Regions from separate parts of the Homo sapiens genome. Here region 2 is linked to region 1. Evidence: promoter capture Hi-C in human tissues and cell types (Jung and others, 2019). All regions are on one chromosome and are shown on one strand. Each heading gives the region's core, a stretch centred on a gene start or on the middle of the fragment in contact. The rest is flanking DNA. Distances are from core to core; before and after follow the strand shown.

Evidence for each region. Contacts are between HindIII fragments. The study calls those that stand out against the background at their distance.
Region 2: a fragment that was not itself captured here is called in contact with the fragment with the promoter of DNAJC12 in region 1 in 1 of the 25 tissues and cell types used here (dorsolateral prefrontal cortex).

Annotation. Positions count from the first base shown.
Region 1 is chr10:67,833,750-67,839,573 of GRCh38, reverse strand. It overlaps DNAJC12 (DnaJ heat shock protein family (Hsp40) member C12), which reads left to right and starts at 1,386. Exons shown (of 5, transcript NM_021800.3): 1 at 1,386-1,640. The coding sequence starts at 1,563. It also overlaps the pseudogene DNAJC19P1. The HindIII fragment of the contact is 7,681 bases long and covers 1-2,425 here.
Region 2 is chr10:66,542,565-66,548,605 of GRCh38, reverse strand. All of the region lies in intron 10 of CTNNA3 (catenin alpha 3), which reads left to right. Among named protein-coding and RNA genes, the nearest start is that of LRRTM3, 380 kb to the left of the region's middle. The HindIII fragment of the contact is 3,995 bases long and covers 1,643-5,637 here.

The DNA of each region.
Region 1 (5,824 bases), core at 137-2,636:
TTTCTTGCTTCTCTTCAGAAATAAACCTTTAAAAAGATGTATATAGGTGGGCTAAAAGAAAAACTATTTTTTCCCCTCAGGTGGGGGAATTTAAAGTGTTAAGGGCCAGGCATGTTGGCTCACATCTGTAATCGCAGCACTTTGGGAGGCCAAAGTGGGAGGATCACTTGAGTCCAGGGGTTTAAGACCAATCTGGGCAATATGGCGAGACCCTGTCTCTCTGAAAAATGAAACAAAAAAAGTGTTAAGGCAGTCAAAGTGTTGTGTCCCTGACCACTCACCTTGTTCTCTAAATCCCAGACCTGAACTGTGTTTCTTAGGGCCAAAATGAACTGAAACATAAATTGCCTGGACCTACCTCAGACTAGAGACACTCCTGAGTCTGGAGAACCAACCCAGGAGAAATAGCACAGCCATCTGACCCGAGTTATCATACAGTTCTTCTCATTGTCCTATTTTATTTTCTCTAAAGCACAAATCACTATTTTATTTTTTTATTTTTTGAGATGGAGTCTTGCTCTGTAGCGCAGTCTGGAGTGCAGTGGCACCATCTCGGCTCACTACAGCCTCTGCCTCCTGGGTCCAAGTGATTCTTCTGCCTCAGCCTCCCAAGTAGCTGGACTACAGGTGTGGGCCACCATGCCTGGCTTACAAATCACTATTTTAAATGATCGTGTTTTTTTTTTTTTTTTTTTTTTTTGCATGTTTTTCAGCTGTCTTCCTCCATCAGAGCGTAAGCTCCATAAAAATCAAGACTGTGTTATTGGCTGGGCGCTGTGGATCATGCCTGTAATCCCAGCACGTTGGGAGGCCGAAGCAGGCAGATCGCTTTGAGCTCACGAGTTCGAGACCAGGCTGGGCAACATGGCAAAACCCCCTCCTCTTAAAACATAACAAAACAAAAACCAAAAATTAGCTGGACATGGTGCTATGTGCCTGTGGTCCCAGCTACTAGGGAGGCTGAGGTGGGAGGATCGCTTGAGCTGGGGAGACAGAGGTTGCAGTGAGCTGAGACTGCACCACTGCACTCCAGCCTGGGCAACAGAGTGAGACCTTGTCTGAAAATAAACAAATAAAAAATAAAATTAAGTATTTTAAACACTAAGAAAAGCTCCCATTATCCTTATTAACACATCCTAAGATTTTACCACATTGCTTCACATTTTTTTTCTTTTTTTTTTTTAAAGGATAGAGACAAAAATATATAGGAGATGGAGAAGTGGCTAATGTGGCAAGTTTCTGAAAATAGACAGTCTTTATTAACTCATAAGACAAATGGTTCACATGCATCTCTTATATAAACTCAAACTACAGATCCCAGGCAGCACTGCAATAATAGACACGTGGACTGTTCTTTTCTTCTCTGTAAACAGCCAATGAGAGGCAGAGTTTACAAAGGTCTAGGATGACATCTGGTGTATTGACTGTGGCCAGTCTTAAAGCTAGTTTTTGCTATGTGGAACATGCTGCTCTAATTCAGATTTAAAGAGTTTCTTCCTGTTAATTCGAAGCTCACTGTGCCTCTTGTTTCCGAGGGAAGAAGGACTGATTAAGTCATCTAAATGGATGCAATACTGAATTACAGGTCAGAAGATACTGAAGATTACTACACATTACTGGGATGTGATGAACTATCTTCGGTAAGACAGTGGATAATATTTTTATCACAACAGTATTCTTTTTCACAATAGTATTTCAAGTTTTTATTTAAGGTTTTAACTTTGAATTTTTAGTCACATTGCCTACAAACCTAACCTTGTGTTGTTTTAAAGCACTTTTGGCTCAGAGAAAGTTAAGAATTTAAATGTATGTTGGGATTTTACTTGAATAGTGTCCTATGGGAATTTTACGGAAGCTTCTGATTAAATATGTGTATTCTGGCACATGGCCATATGCTGTTTCACAATATAGTATATTAAAAATAAATATTTGAAATTTTATTGTAATTTCTGATGGCAGTGTTTCACAGTATATATAAGCTATACCTTTATTATGGTGACTCATAATTGAGGTGAAATGAAATTTCTTATAAAATTAGGGATTTTAATATATTTTATTAAAATGTGTACTCCTATGTGAGCAGTCAAAATAGAAACAAAGAAGCATCCCTTTATGTTAATATTTCAAATTGTGTGACAGAAATTACTTCTTGAAAGGGTGGCTTCTGAAACAAAACATGTGAAAACTCTGTAGCTGTTCACTGGATCTGTAAGAAAACAAAATTTTTAAAGTTCTCAATAAACAATTATAAAGGTTGTAGAGGTTTTTTAAATTATGGAAAAATCATTTATAATTCTCTCTCCCAAGGATAACAGTATTAATATTTTGGCATATTAATCTCCACTATTCTTTCTATGTATATTCTTTAAAGACCTGTTTGGGAGGATATTATATGTACTTGTTGATTCCTGCTTTTTACCCATTCGTATTATAACAAGGAATTTTCCATGCTATTAAACTTTCCTTGTACACTTTTTAGTGGTTGCAAAATATTTTATTTTGCTGTGTTACCACAGTTGAATTATTCTCTTATTGTTAAATATTTTATTTCCAATTTTTCAATATTTCAAATAATGTTGAGATTAATATAAAATATATTCATTATTAAATTATATATTATTAAATCATGTTATTAGGATATATTTATGTTTTATAATTAATGTATTTTATTTTATTTATTTTTATTAAAATCTAAGTAGTAAAATTAACATTGTAAAGCAAAATGTTTTTATATTTATTGTTGTTTCATAAAGGCAGTAGTTCATTAATAAAATGTGCTTAGTTTTGTTTTAAGAATAGAATGCATTACTGGACACAAAGGATTAAAATCTCTATTTTTGCCATGCTGAGGAAGTTATCTTAGACACGTTGAAATTAAAAAAACTGCCCCGCCCCCAGAATAGCTTATAATGGTCTTTTAGTTGCATATTTCTTCTCAAGAATGTGTTATTCTTGTTTATGTTGGTGGTGATTTGCTTATAGCAATTGAGAAAGCTTATTACCATTTTTACCATGTGTTATTCACAGTTGAAATTATACTATTATCAAACAATTTTTGAAGGAATAATTTAAAATCAAAGGAATATAATTTAACTTGATAAGGCTGACAATTTGGATTTAAAAAAATACATGCTAGCTTATACAGTAAGGGTCATTATATCTCCATAATCTTGTGACCTATTTAGTCAGTCCTTTTTTTTTTTTTTCAATTTTACTTTAAGTTCTGGGATCCCTGTGCAGAATGTGCAGGTTTGTTACATAGATACACATGTGCCAGGGTGGTTTGCTGCACCTATCAACCCATCATCTAGGTTTTAAGCCCCGCATACATTAGGTATTTGTCCTAATGCTGTCCCTCCCCTTCTCCCCCACCCCCCGACAGGCCCCGGTGTGTGATGTTCCCCTGCCTGTGTCCATGTGCTCTCATTGTTCATCTCCCACTTATGAGTGAGAACATGTGGTGTTTGGTTTTCTGTTCCTGTGTTAGTTTGCTGAGAATGATGGTTTCCAGCTTCATCCATGTCCCTGCAAAGGACATGAACTCATTCTTTTTTATGGCTGCATAGTCAGTCTTTTGAAGTTATGCTGTTGTCTTTTCAATCTACATAGAAGGAGGATTCATTTTGGACAGCCTTACAGAAAATAATCTCGTTGTTAATGTGTAATATTCAAAATATGGTTACCAGGTGGAGTCATACTTCCTTGTCTCAACATTCCTTTTACTGGATGTATTTTACTGGTCTGTCAATGGCATATCATATCTAGATAACAATTATTTATTTTTAATGAAATGTTTGTCATAATATTGTCACTTCTTTATATATATGTGTGTGTGTGTGTGTGTGTGTGTGTGTGTCATTTTTTCTCTCTTTTTTTTGTTTTTTTGAGATGGAGTCTCACTCTGTTGCCGGGCTGGAGTGCAGTGGTGCAATCTCAGGTCACTGCAACCTCCGCCTCCCAGGTTCAAGTGATTCTCCTTCCTCAGCTTCCTGAGTAGCTGGGACTACAGGCACATGCCACCATGCCTAGCTAATTTTTGTATTTTTAGTAGAGACGGGGTTTCACCGTGTTGGCCAGGATGGTCTTCATCTCTTGACCTCGTGATCTGCCTACCTCGGCCTCCTAAAATACTGGGATTACAGACGTGAGCCACCGCACCTGGCTTTTCTCTTCTTTTTATAGGTATGCTTCTCATTTCAAAAATATTTTTATGACATTTTTGACTAATATGACATTTCCTTTACTTGATTTGTATTGGATAGATTGCCTTTACTTCAGGTATTCCTTCATTTGATGCTCTAAAATTAACCAGAACTCATCATGCCCGAAAGCATTTTAGCTGTTATAATTTCAAAACAATTTGATATTCTAATTTTACTTATCACAATTGAATTGAGACACCCACATAATACTTTTGCTTTGGTATATAGTTCTTACAATTTAAAGTTTGTGCTAGAAATTGATTAAAGTAAAATTATGTATTTTCTAATGGTTCTAGAGCAGTAATCCTGAAGCTTTTCCTTCTCAGAGAGTTTTTAAAATTATCTTTCAGAAATTGAAAATACAACCATGAAAACAAGCAATGAGACTAATTTTCTAGTTTACATAATGACATATATAAATTATGGGAGGATTTCCATGTTATATAGAAAACAATATATTCCCCATTTCAAAACAATTTAACAAAGATTGATTCCAAGACAGTTAGCCTTTCTCCCTATATTGGATTTTTTTTTTAAATTTTTGTTTCTTTGAGATGAAGTCTCACTGTGTTGCCCAGGCTGGAGTGCAGTGGCAGGATCTCAGCTCACTGCAGCCTCCTGGGTTCAAGTGATTCTCCTGCTTCAGCCTCCTGAGTAGCAGGGATTATACGTGCATGCCACTATGCCCAGCTAATTTTTGTATTTTTGTACAGATGAGCTTTCACCATGTTGTCCAGGCTGGCCTTGAACTCCTGACCTCAAGTGATCCGCCGCCTTGGCCTCCCAAAGTGTTGGGATTACAGGCATGAGCCACCGCGCCCGGCCTCTATTCCTCAGTTTTCTAACCTGTAAATGGAAGTAAATAGTACCCACCTCACAGAGTTGTGGGGATTAAATAATACGTGATATATAAAGTACTTTGAACAGTGCCTGGTGCAGAGCGCTAAGTTGTGGTGGTTGTGGTTGTGGCTGTTGTTTTGGCCCCCACAGTGTTACTGTGCACTTGGAACTTAGTACACTTATCCTATCCTTGAGTTTGCATTATTTTTAAGATGTTTTATTTTGCAATAATTTTTGACTTACAGAAAAGTTGTAAAAATAGTACAACAGAGTTCCTATATACCCTTAACCCAGCTTCCCTTTATGTTAACATCATACCTAATGAAAGTATAATGATCAAAATCAGAAATTAAAAAAAATTATAGCTCTGAGGCATTTTATTATAAAAGCTTGGTACTCATATACATAAACTAAAATGAACTTAAAATTCATCATACATTTACTTCATTTTTTAGCTTGACCTTCTAGTAAATTTCTAGCTTCACTGATTTTGGCTGCTATGATTTAAGAGTATAATTTATCAATGAGCATCTCTTATTTTCCCTTTTTTGGCAGTAGGGCTTACCCCTAGCATTAATGCTGCTTCTTGTTTTGTCATTTTGGGTTCAAACTCACCTCAGTAATAGCCACCACTGAAGGCAGATTTTGATAGACTTTGAAAAACTTGCTTTACTTGAGGCTCCATGTGCTCCATGGCTTGCAAAACATAATGGCCTGCAAATCCTGCAGCAGCAATGGTCAGTCCAACTGCTACCATTGTACTGGCCATGGCTATAGCTGGG
Region 2 (6,041 bases), core at 2,391-4,890, 1.3 Mb after region 1:
AATCAATGGAAAATGTTCACAGCTGATAAATGACATCTGACAAAAAAATCTATAACATCTAATGGAATAATGATACTTGAAAGCTTTCCTTTGGAATTGGAAATAAAATAAAGATGTTTACAATCACACTTTTCTATTGTCCTAGAGATTCTAATTGAGGATGAAATATGAGAAAAAGAACAGAAAGAGGAAGAATTGGAAATAATTTAATGTAGAGAAAATACAATGCAAAGACAAATTATAATACTTAATAAGTGAGTTAGCCAGTTTCTGGATACAGTGTCAGTATTTTAAAAAATCAATTGCAATTCTATGTACTAGAAAAAAGATATAAGCAATGAAGTTTTATAAAATATAATATATTCAATAATATCAAAAATATCAAATACAGCCAGGCACGGTGTCTCACACCTGTAATCCCAGCACTTTGGGAGGCCGAGGTGGACGGATCACCTGAGGTTCGGAGTTTGAGACCAGCCTGACCAACATGGAGAAACCCCATCTCTACTAAAAATACAAAATGGGAGCCGGACATGGTGGCACATGCCTGTAATCCCAACTACTGGGGAGGCTGAGGCAGGAGAATCACTTGAACCTAGGAGGTGGAGGTTGTGGTGAGCCAAGATTGCACCATTGCACTCCAGCCTGAGCAACAAGAGTGAAACTCCATCTTAAAAAAAAAAAAAAATCAGATACTAAGAAATGATGTAACAAAAAGTTATGCAAGACCTGTATGCAGAAAACCAAAAATCATAATTGAAAGAAACATGTGTGAAGACCGAAATCTATATCTGTATTTCTCAATCTAACTATGGTCATGTTTATGGATTGTAAGACCAAATATTTTAAAGCTTGCAAATAACCTTAGGCTGACCTATAAATTTAATGCAATACCAACCAAAATCTTTAAAATATTTATTTATGAACTTCACAAATTAATAAGAAGTTTCATATAGAAAAATCAGGCTGGGTGCAGTGGCTCATGCCTGTAATCCCAGCACTTTGGGAGGCCGAGGAGGGTGGATTACGAGGTCAGGAGATCGAGACCATCCTGGCTAACATGGTGAAACCCCGTCTCTACTAAAAATACAAAAAATTAACTGGGCGTGGTGGCGGGCGCCTGTAGTCCCAGCTACTTGGGAGGCTGAGGCAGGAGAATGGCATCAACCCGGGAGGTGGAGCTTGCAGTGAGCCAAGAATGGGCCACTGGACTCCAGCCTGGGCAACAGAGCAGACTCTATCTCAAAAAAAAAAAAAAGAAAGAAAGAAAAATCAAAGGAACAAGAATAAGTTATATACTCATTTAAAAGATTAGGTTAATCATTAGTGCTGTCTATCCAATATTTTATTTTCTCCTCTTGGTTGAGGTGATGAGTGGTCGTGTGACGTGTTTTGTTAATGAAATGTGAAAGTGACATTTGTGACTCCTGGCTAGAAGATTTAAGAGCCAATTAATAATTCACCACACTCTATCTACTTCCTTCTGCTAAGGTAATTAGCAATATGTGCAAGAGAGTAGCTGTTCAATCAGTGTGGGCTCCAGAATTAGAAGAAATCAAGTATATTCTCCAGACAACCCAAAATGGACAACTAGAGAGAGCAAGAAAAACAAAACAAAAAGCTCTGTTGTTATAAGTCACTGCAATTTAAAATTCTTTGTTATTGCAGTATAATCTACTCTGACAGAAACAAAGTGTAACATGGAAGGAATTACTCCATGGGACATATCAAATCTGATAAAAATAAAGTAATTAAGACCATGACTATGGTTTGGCTGTGTCCCCACCCAAAATCTCATGTTGAATTGTAATCCCCATGATCCCCATAATTTCCACGTGTCAAGAGTGGGACCAGGTAGAGGTAATTGTATCATGAGGGTGGCTTCCCCCATGCTGTCCTCATGATAGTGAGTGATTTCACAAGATCTGATGGTTTTATAAGCATCTGGCATTTCCCCTGCTTTCACTTACTCACATCTACCGCCTGATGCCTTGTGAAGAAGGTGCCTTGCTTCCCCTTCACCTTCCACCATATTTGTAAGTTTCTCGAGGCTTCCCCAACCATGCTAAACAGTGAGTCAATTAAACCTCTTTCCTTTATAAATTACCCAGTCTTGGGCAGTTATTTATACCAGTATGAAAACAGACTGATCCAACCATGTTGTACTGAATCAAGGATAAACAAATGGAATAAAAATACAGAAATATACATTTATTATTATGATTATTATGATGATGATTTGATGCTACAAAAGTGGGGAAAATATATTCTTTTCAGTAAATGATGCTGTGACAATTACATGCATGTGAAAGTAAATGAAATTTGAGTTCTCCCTCATATCTTTCATGTAAACCAATTCCATGTGGATTAGTAACTTAAAAGTGAAAGCAAAAACATATGTTTTTAGAAGATAGTGTAGAATATCTTCATAAGCTTGGGATATGAAAAAGTTTTAATAGGAAATAAGAGTAGTAAACATAAAAATAAACAGGAGATAATTATACTGCATGAAAACTAAGGACCTGTGTTTATCAAAATACATCCATAAGAGAGTGAAAGTATAAGCCTTCACATGGAAAAATATATTTGCAAAATACTTAACTGACAATGAGTTTATATCCAGAAGATAAATATATTATATTTAAATATATAATATATAATGTACATACATAATTTTATGTAGATAAAACATACGTATATGTTTGTAGATATAGATATACAAAATATACAAAGACAGAAGCTAACCACTTGGGAATGGGCAAGTGACTTAAATATACTAATAACAAATGACAAAACCCAAATATCTAATGAACATATAGAAAACAGAATAATCTCTTTAGTTATTGGTAACTCCGAATAAAAAACACAACTGTATTCTCTCCAGAATGGCTATAATTTAAAAGATTGACAATATCAAGTGGTGAAGATGTGAAATATCAAAAATACTCATATGTTGCTGGGAGACTACATCAGTATGGACACCTTAGAAACATGTTTAGCATTGTCTTCTGAAATGAAAAGTTAATACACTCTGTGACCCAACCATTCCACTCCCAGACACATAATCTGAAGACACTGATGCATATAGGAATGAGAAAATATTAATAGCAGCATTAATTGTAATTTCCTAGAAGCAATCCAAATGTTTGACAGTAGAATGGATTTGTGTTATATTTATATAATGAAAAAAGGAACAACAAAATAAATGATTTATAGGTACATATAGCAATCTGGATGAATCTCACAAGTGTAGTATTGACTAAAATAAGCAAGAAATAAAGCTGCTGTTTTTGTAAATTTCAGAAAGAAATAAAATTATACTGTTTAGAAAGGGACGTTTATGCGGTAACATTAAAAAGAAAAATTAGCATATAAGGGTGTGTAATTTATGATAATATTCTTTTCCACAACTTGGGTATTGGTTATAATTATTTGTAAAGCTATACATTCTGTTTTATAGACTTTTAATTTTTGTTTTATTTAACCATATGAAAGCTTAAAAGAAGATAAAATATCCTACCCGTTCAACTTTAGTATTCCTTCTGCATATTTAAGATTCATACATAAGTGTATTTTGTTAAGTCACTGTGAGAGAGTTCTACTATAGGGTGATTAATTACAGGAACAACAGTCCTCATCTTTCATGATTTCTAACTAGAAGATAATGGTTTGTTACATAAATCTTTTCCCAAACCAGTAGAAGGACAGAGAACACCGTTGGTTTATTTGGTCCTAGACACATTTAAAATAATGAAAAGTACACAATATGCATTATCTTTTCCATGAAATGCAAGAAAGTTCTTAGTATTATTTAACAACACAATCTGTAATATTTTACAAAGCTTTCTTCTGATAGCTTTTGTTTACTAGAGTGTGGGCTTAAGATAAAAGCAAAACAAAACACAATTATCCTATAGATATAAATTGAGTGCTGACTTCATTTTTCCTGAGGTGGTAACTTATTTGCTCAAATGGTACGACTAGATGGTCATACAAGTTTAAGGCACAGAATAATCAAGAGATTTATTAATTTGAACCTAGGATATATTACTAAAAACACAGAAATTTCTTATATTTTCTGTTAAAGCAATCTCAGTCCACATTTATTAAAATACTCATCTAGCTTGGTTTTTGGGCTATATCCTCATCAAACGATGGTAATAGGAAATGAACCAAAGTGACATCTGTAGTCTCAGCAACTTAAAGTTTGCTTGCAATGATTAGTTTTCCTTTCCCAACCCTCTGAAATAAGGTCTTCTCAAGCTTTAGGATGTGTTCAACATTAAGTCTTCAGTTAAGACATCTTGCCTATATTGGAAGAGAAGGGATTTTATAGGTTAATAGGCTGCATGGTATAAGGTGGGAAAGGGTAATTTACTAGGAGGCTAATACATTTACTGGGAAATTGGCCATCCTGTATCTGTCATAGTTAGCAGATTAAAATATTTAATGCCAAAGGGGACATAATAGCCAATGAAGCCTTGAGTCACATTACTGTGTGAAGTAAATTCTAAAATACTATTCAATCTTCTGCATTAACTTGTTTCAAAGGCTGAAGCAGTAAATAAAATTACTAATGGAGCTGGCAGATAGGTCATCCATTTAGCTCAAAAGGAGATAGAATAAAATAAAGAAAAATGCTGAAGAACAAATATATATATATATATATATATATATATATATATATATATATACACACACACACATCTCAAGAAGGATTAGCTAAATTCAGAAAAAGCAAAATTTAGCAATTTTAATACATTCACCTATTTCACCATATACAGTGGGAGAAGAAACTTTAAAAAATTAACTCACAATGGTGAATTGGATGTTGTTACAAGCTATTCACAGCTTTCCTTATAATTGAAATAAGATTCAGAGATGAACAGAGGTTCTAATAGGAAAGATTTTGAATCAGCTCTAAGAGAGCTTCATTTTTTCTACTATCTTTAGAAATGTAATTCATTAAAAAATACAAAAATTTTAAAGTAGAAATTTCTTGTAATTTCTCTACCAGAAATCATGATGAATAATATTTGGTGTATAACCTTTCAGCTTCTTCTGTGTAGGTAGTTGTCTCTATAAAATGTATCACATATATTTTTAATTTATTTTTTTCTTCACTTAAAATAACTTAAACCCCTTTCCATGTTATTAAATATTGTTTAATGTAATTTTTCATGGCTGCATAGCATTTTATTAAAAACCTGCATTCTGGGCGGGTGCAGTAGCTCACGCCTGTAATCCCAGCACTTTGGGAGGCTGAGGTGGGTGGATCACGAGGTCAGGAGTTTGAGACCAGCCTGGCCAAGATGGTGAAACCTGTCTCTTCTAAAAATACAAAAATTAGCCGGGCTCAGTGGCAGAGACCTGTAATCCCAGCTACTCGGGAGGCTGAGACAGGAGAATTGCTTGAACCTGGGAGGCAGGGATTGATTGCAGTGAGCCGAGATTGCGCCATTGAACTCTAGCCTGGGCAGCACAGCAAGAAAAAACAAACAAACAAACAAAATTCTGCACTCTAACTTACTTAGTGGATATACATTTTGGTAATTTACTATATGGTGTTTATTTATTAAAAAATACTGTAGCCTTTTTAAGCTAAATTTCAATGTTTACCTTAGTTATTTCATTAGAATACATTTCTAAAAGTAGAATTTCTATTTTAAAGTCTGCAAATTTCAAGTTTTATTTTATTTTTTTAATGTATATATTTTTATTATACTTTAAGTTCTAGGGTACATGTGCACAACGTGCAGGCTTGTTACATATGTATACATGTGCCATGTTGGTGTGCTGCACCCATTAACTCATCATTTACATTAGGTATATCTCCTAATGCTATCCCTCCCCCCTCCCCCAACCCCACAACAGGCCCTGATGTGTGATGTTCCCCTTCCTGTGTCCAAGTGTTCTCATTGTTCAATTCCCACCTATGAGTGAGAACATGCGGTGTTTGGTTTTTTGTCCTTGTGATAGTTTGCTGAGAATGATGGTTTCCAGCTTCATCCATGTCCATACAAAGGACATGAACTCATCAT